Regions from separate parts of the Homo sapiens genome. Here region 1 is linked to region 2. Evidence: promoter capture Hi-C in human tissues and cell types (Jung and others, 2019). All regions are on one chromosome and are shown on one strand. Each heading gives the region's core, a stretch centred on a gene start or on the middle of the fragment in contact. The rest is flanking DNA. Distances are from core to core; before and after follow the strand shown. Region 1 overlaps APPL1 (adaptor protein, phosphotyrosine interacting with PH domain and leucine zipper 1). Region 2 holds the start of ASB14 (ankyrin repeat and SOCS box containing 14).

Region 1 (2,700 bases), core at 19-2,518, 49 kb before region 2:
CTGTTGCCCAGGTTGGAGTGCAGTGGCTTTTCAAGCCACAATCATAGCATACTGTAGTGATCCTGCTGCCCCATCCTCCTGAGTAGCTGGGACTATTGGCATATGCCACTGTGTCTAAGCTGCGTTTGCTATTTTTGTACTAGAAAATACTTTAAAAAGCTTTAGTGCATTAGTTTCCTTGGAATTAATTTTTTAAAAACCAATTTGAGAAGTAGACACATAATTTAGGGGAAATTTGGCTGTGGGGAAAATTGAGTGCAGTGGTCATGTGGTAGGAAATTCTTGCTTTAGTACGTTTGTGGAAAGGTGCACATGTGAAGACCATTGAAAGCATTTGTAAGTTTTGAAAAGTACTGTTGTATTGTTAACACTCATTTCTTTTTTCCAGATCATGATGCTGCGATTAATAGATATAGCCGTTTATCAAAAAAAAGAGAAAATGACAAGGTGTGGTACATATTTATTCCTTCAGTGTCATAATTAACTATTCATTAGGTGGTTTAGTTTTTCCTCTATCAAAATAGAGCCAGCAGTTACTTTGTATGTTTTGTTATATTACTATTAGTTTATTCTTTCCTTCTAGCTGTTCAAAACCTTTCTGATAATCATTGACCTCTTTAAACAAAATATTTTCTTCTGCCAAAATTTGATGTTATAAGTAAATATAACTATTCTGGAAATTTAACTGATGCCCAGTATATAACATTGCCTTTTGTTGCTTTGTATTTTGATGACATGGCATTGGTTCTGTTTGAATATATAGGTGTGTTCAAAAATGTCTTCTGAGATAGAGTGGTCACACACATAATGAAATTCTGTTATGAGGCCCTCCTTATTTATAGACATATATATCTTTTGATATTTGTTCAAGGAGTGAAATACAGAAATATTACACTATATTTGAGGAGAAATGCATTCAAGTAAAGATGAGAGTACAGAGTATTAACAGGTTTTTTTGGGCGTGCCTTAAGATCATGTCTTTCTCCAGCATCTAGTCCAAGGCTTGATGTGTAGGTCTTTCTAGATGCTTGTGACTGAGGTGATCTCTGTGCCTGGGTGTTGGTGTCTGCAGCCTTGGCTGCAGCTGCTGGTGGAAACACAGTGACTGCTTGTGGGAATCCACAGTTGGGTAGGATTTACTGTGCAACAGCTACTGTGACAAAGGAAATGTTTCTCACACAAAGTTTAGTACAAAGATTGATTTCCTTTTCGTTTCTAATTTTAGCTGCAGACTACTACTTAATGGTGTATTGATAAAATGTATACATTTGAGATCTCTATTAGTCACTTGGCCTTAGAGAAGTAGTTAAAGGCTCTGGGTATAAAATTTGATATATTTTACATTACTTCTGGCTGCTCAAAGTATTTTAAAAAACACTCTGTCACCAACTTCATTTTATTTAAAAATTCATTGAGCACCTAATATACGTCAAGCAGTCTGTTGGGTACCTTGGGGGAACAACATGAATAGGCTTCACTCCTGCCCTCAAAGACTGGATACTCCACATTTATTGAAGGCTACCTGTGTGAAGGCATGCAGGTGGACTAGGAACCAGAGTACAAGGATGACAAGAAGGCATGAATTAACTCTGTTATTAGTTAAATACAATAATAGGGGTTTTAATAAAATGCTGAGAGAGCACAGAGAGGGCAGCAGTTCACTTTGATTGGTGAATTGGGAAAGGTTACACTTTTTTTTTTTTTTTGAGACAGGGCCTCATTCTGTCTCCCAGGCAGGAGTGCAGTGGCTCCGTCTCGGCTCACTGCAACCTCCGCCTCCTGGGTTCAAGTGATCCTCCTGTTTCAGCCTCCCCAGTAACTGGGATTACAGGTGTTAGCCACTATGCTCAGCTAATTTTTGTATTTTTAGTAGAGGTGGGGTTTCACCATGTTGGCCAGGCTGGTCTCGAACTCCTGACTTCAGGTGATCTGCCTGCCTCGGCCTCCCAAAGTGCTGGGATTACAGGCTTGAGCCACCACACATGGCCAGCAAAGGTTACACTTTTAGAAGGTGACATTTACATTAAAGATAAGTGGATAACACCAGTTTGGAATCGGAGAGAGTGCTTTCCTGAAAGAAAAACAGCCTTTCAGAGGCACATGGTGGAGTTGGGAGAGTGTAAAGATTAAGAGTACTCTGTGACAATAAAGGAAATGTTAGGAGATATGGCAGAAAGAGTAAGAAGTATATTAGTACCAGATTACTATATTAATGACCTTGAAATTTGTGTTAGAGGGAGTGGACAGCCGCCAAAGGATTCTAAGTAGGTGAATAACATCATGCAATTGTGTTATAGAACAAACATACTAATGAAAATGTGAAGAGGACAAGACTAGAGGATATCCAGTGAAAGGAATTGGAATAGTTTGCAGAGATACAATGAAGGCCTCAGCTAAGGTTGTTACTGAAAATGGAGAGGAAGGAGTACTTTTGGGAGATATTTTTTTAAGTAGAATTGACAAGACTTGTGGTAATAGGAGGAATAAAAAATGAGTCCTAGATTTCTTGGATGTCTGGATGGATCCTGTAGTAATTAAGAAAGGTAAGAAACAAAGCAGAAGAACAGGTTTTGTGTACAAAACTATCTTCAGTTTTGTACATTTTTAGCACATAAACACACATAAAGAACCCAGCTGGAGATGTGTTTACTCTGTCACTTGGGAAGGTGAGAGGGAGGAGATAAAATTTGTGAGTCATTG
Region 2 (2,700 bases), core at 160-2,659:
AGTAAACTGGGTTATCACCCCTGAAAAAATGATGGTTACTGCCTCAGGAGACCAAGGTTGCTGATTGGCCAGCGAGCGTGTGAGCAGGTGTGCCATATCCAGGACGATTCTTCTTACACCCCACACAGGGTCCCACTGGTCCTTTTTCAGTGTTGTCCAACAAAACTCTGAATCTACACTTTCAGAAGCCTTGTTCAAGTTTATGTAATTCCTCCTTTTGATTTGAGTAGATCAAAGACTGGACCCCATCCCCACCTACCCTACTAAGGTTGAAGATAACTAACTTTCTATGTGTCCCGGTTGGATTTATGCATTTCTTCAATTCCCAAAGACAAGATGTATTAGTTTTTCTCTAGCCCTTCATATCCTCCTTTCTTTCTTCTGATTTCCAGTCTGTATCACCTCACCCAGATTTGCTGCTAACCTCCTTCAGATATTTTTATTGCCTAATTAAATTCTGAATTATTTCCAGATTATTCCTGTCTAGTTAGGCATAATATCTTACAGATATTTAATTGACAGCTCCTTGGATTCTGACCCTCCTGTTTTTGTCACAACACTAGAGTTAAGCTAATGACAAGTGTCAGCTGTTGAATACAACACTTAATACTATATTGCCGATGAGAAAACCATTACCTCTCATCCTTAGGTGCATGTTGTGCTGTTCCTGGCTTATAAATATCCTGCAAACTCTGTTGAATGATGAGCTGGGTGTCAAAGTCTTCATCTATGTCTTCATCGCTGGTGTAATTATCCATGTGAAACGTGGACAGGTTTACTTTAAAGTCAGAGTGAATTAAAAGTATTTTTCCAGTTGTGAAGAGATCAACTGCTTAAAATTACAAATGAAATTCAGAAATCTAGAAAATTGGTAGGATTAACAATGAAAAATATACAAAATTTAGGAAACAAAATATTCACTAAAAAATTTCTATAAACTTAAAAAAGTTTTGTGGACTGCCACAGATTCAACAAAAATTAGAAGTTTCCATGAGTAGCCATTGACTTAAAGCTTATTCAGGAAAAACCACCTTTCAAATAAGACTTCGGTTAGTGCCACTCTAACACTGACAACACTCTGATCTGTTCAACTTGGCTGTGAGTCTTTCACAGTGATTGTAGCACTCATCCAAAATAATATCTTTCCTACACACAGTGTGATGCTGAAAATAATATTTTACTTAATATACATTAAAAATAAACATGTTATAGGAACAAATGTATTCTCATAATTACAACATGGATACAGCAGTAGTAAAAACAAATGTATCTTACTAGGCAATATCTAAATGGTTTTAAAAGAAAAATGTCAGTTTTAGCATAGAATACATTTGGTCACATTTCAAAGACTTTTTACCTTTTGTTTTATCCTCTAGGACAGCAGTGAAGTTTTCACTGTTAAGGACTAACACATGTAAGCCTCAGAATTTTCATTTATATTTAGGCTCTCCTCTCCCCTGTAGTGACCATTCCATTAATAGCTTTACTATAAATACTTCATCATAAGACAGTTTGGCACATTCTCCTTGTTTTTTACATGTGGTTTAGCTCTTTTTGGAAACATGATCTCTTTTCTTCAGTGCTACATTCATCAAATTTAAAGGATTAAATATTTTATTCCTGGAATAAAATGCTTTTGCAGGGGGTTGGCCATGCAAAGAGAATTCATGCACATAGCCACTGCAAACCACAATCAATTTTTCACTTAAGAGAACCCAAACATTTTGCTCTGACCCAATTATCCAAAGTGACTGTCCCAATGTACTAGATTCACTAGGTAGCTGTGACTACATTTTCCTTGGGTTACAGAACTGTGGCCTTCAGTGTCCTTGGAATCCTAAGGGAAGAATTCACTCTACACAAGATAAAATTTTGATCAAAATTCTGTTTTGTTGAAATATTTTTAAATTGTTAATATACACTAAAAAAAGCAAAGGGACCACTTGACATTTCAAATTAAATATGAAGCAAATGCCGAGAAGCACACTGTCACTGCAGGTGTAGAAGTTCGGACTGCCCTCAAGCCATCCTACTGCCTTTGCAGGCCAACTTCGCAGCTTTGAGTTTCCTTTCCTAGTCACAAGGATGCAGTGAGAAATGGAACCGATGTCTTAGAGGTAAGAAATAAAGAGGTATAGTTGGGTAACTTTTAATATTTTCCATATTTATAATTTCTTAATTTATGTATTTGAAATATTTATGTATAATTACTTTAGGTAGGAGAGTGGAAAGTAAACTATACTGAAGCTGAAGGAATGACTTAACATTTGTGAAGGAGATAATTCCTGATATTTGTTAAATGTTACCGTTTAACCCCCAAATCTATTTTTCACATACAATCAAACTTCAAAAAGTTCTCCTCAGAAAGGAGAACAATGCAATGAGTGTTTGCAAAGATCATTTAAAAGAATAACACCAAAACACTTGGTTTTATAATGTATATATTTTAAGTAGGACAGGTTTTTTTTTTTTTAAACTTTTGGATGTTTTATAAATTTGTCCAATTTAGTCATCCAACTGACAAAGCAAAGCAACCCCGCGCTTGATCCAGTGCCGAGTAGGTTGGTCTGTTTTTAACAACATTGCAATGACAAAGTTAGTAGAATGTCCCGTAGTGGAAAGAGTTCCTTTACGTTCACTTGTCTTGTAGAGGGGACAGACATAGGCATCCGACTTTATAATCCGAGATTTTTGAGCTTG

The links. The method cuts DNA at HindIII sites, captures the fragments that hold promoters and counts their contacts. A contact is called where the count stands out against the background at its distance.
Region 1: a contact is called between a fragment that was not itself captured here and the fragment with the promoter of ASB14 in region 2, in 3 of the 25 tissues and cell types used here (heart left ventricle, mesendoderm cells and thymus).

The regions. Positions count from the first base shown.
Region 1 is chr3:57,242,468-57,245,167 of GRCh38, forward strand. It overlaps APPL1 (adaptor protein, phosphotyrosine interacting with PH domain and leucine zipper 1), which reads left to right. Exons shown (of 22, transcript NM_012096.3): 7 at 389-447. Among named protein-coding and RNA genes, the nearest start is that of APPL1, 16 kb to the left of the region's middle. The HindIII fragment of the contact is 4,279 bases long and covers 1-2,700 here.
Region 2 is chr3:57,291,276-57,293,975 of GRCh38, forward strand. ASB14 (ankyrin repeat and SOCS box containing 14) reads right to left here and starts at 1,410. Exons shown (of 11, transcript NM_001142733.3): 1 at 1,358-1,410; 2 at 637-829. The coding sequence starts at 758. DNAH12 (dynein axonemal heavy chain 12) reads right to left here. Exons shown (of 74, transcript NM_001366028.2): 74 at 2,425-2,696. The coding sequence ends at 2,506. It overlaps LOC124909384 (a long non-coding RNA gene), which reads left to right and starts at 1,516. Exons shown (of 2, transcript XR_007095923.1): 1 at 1,516-2,117. The HindIII fragment of the contact is 9,422 bases long and covers 1-2,700 here.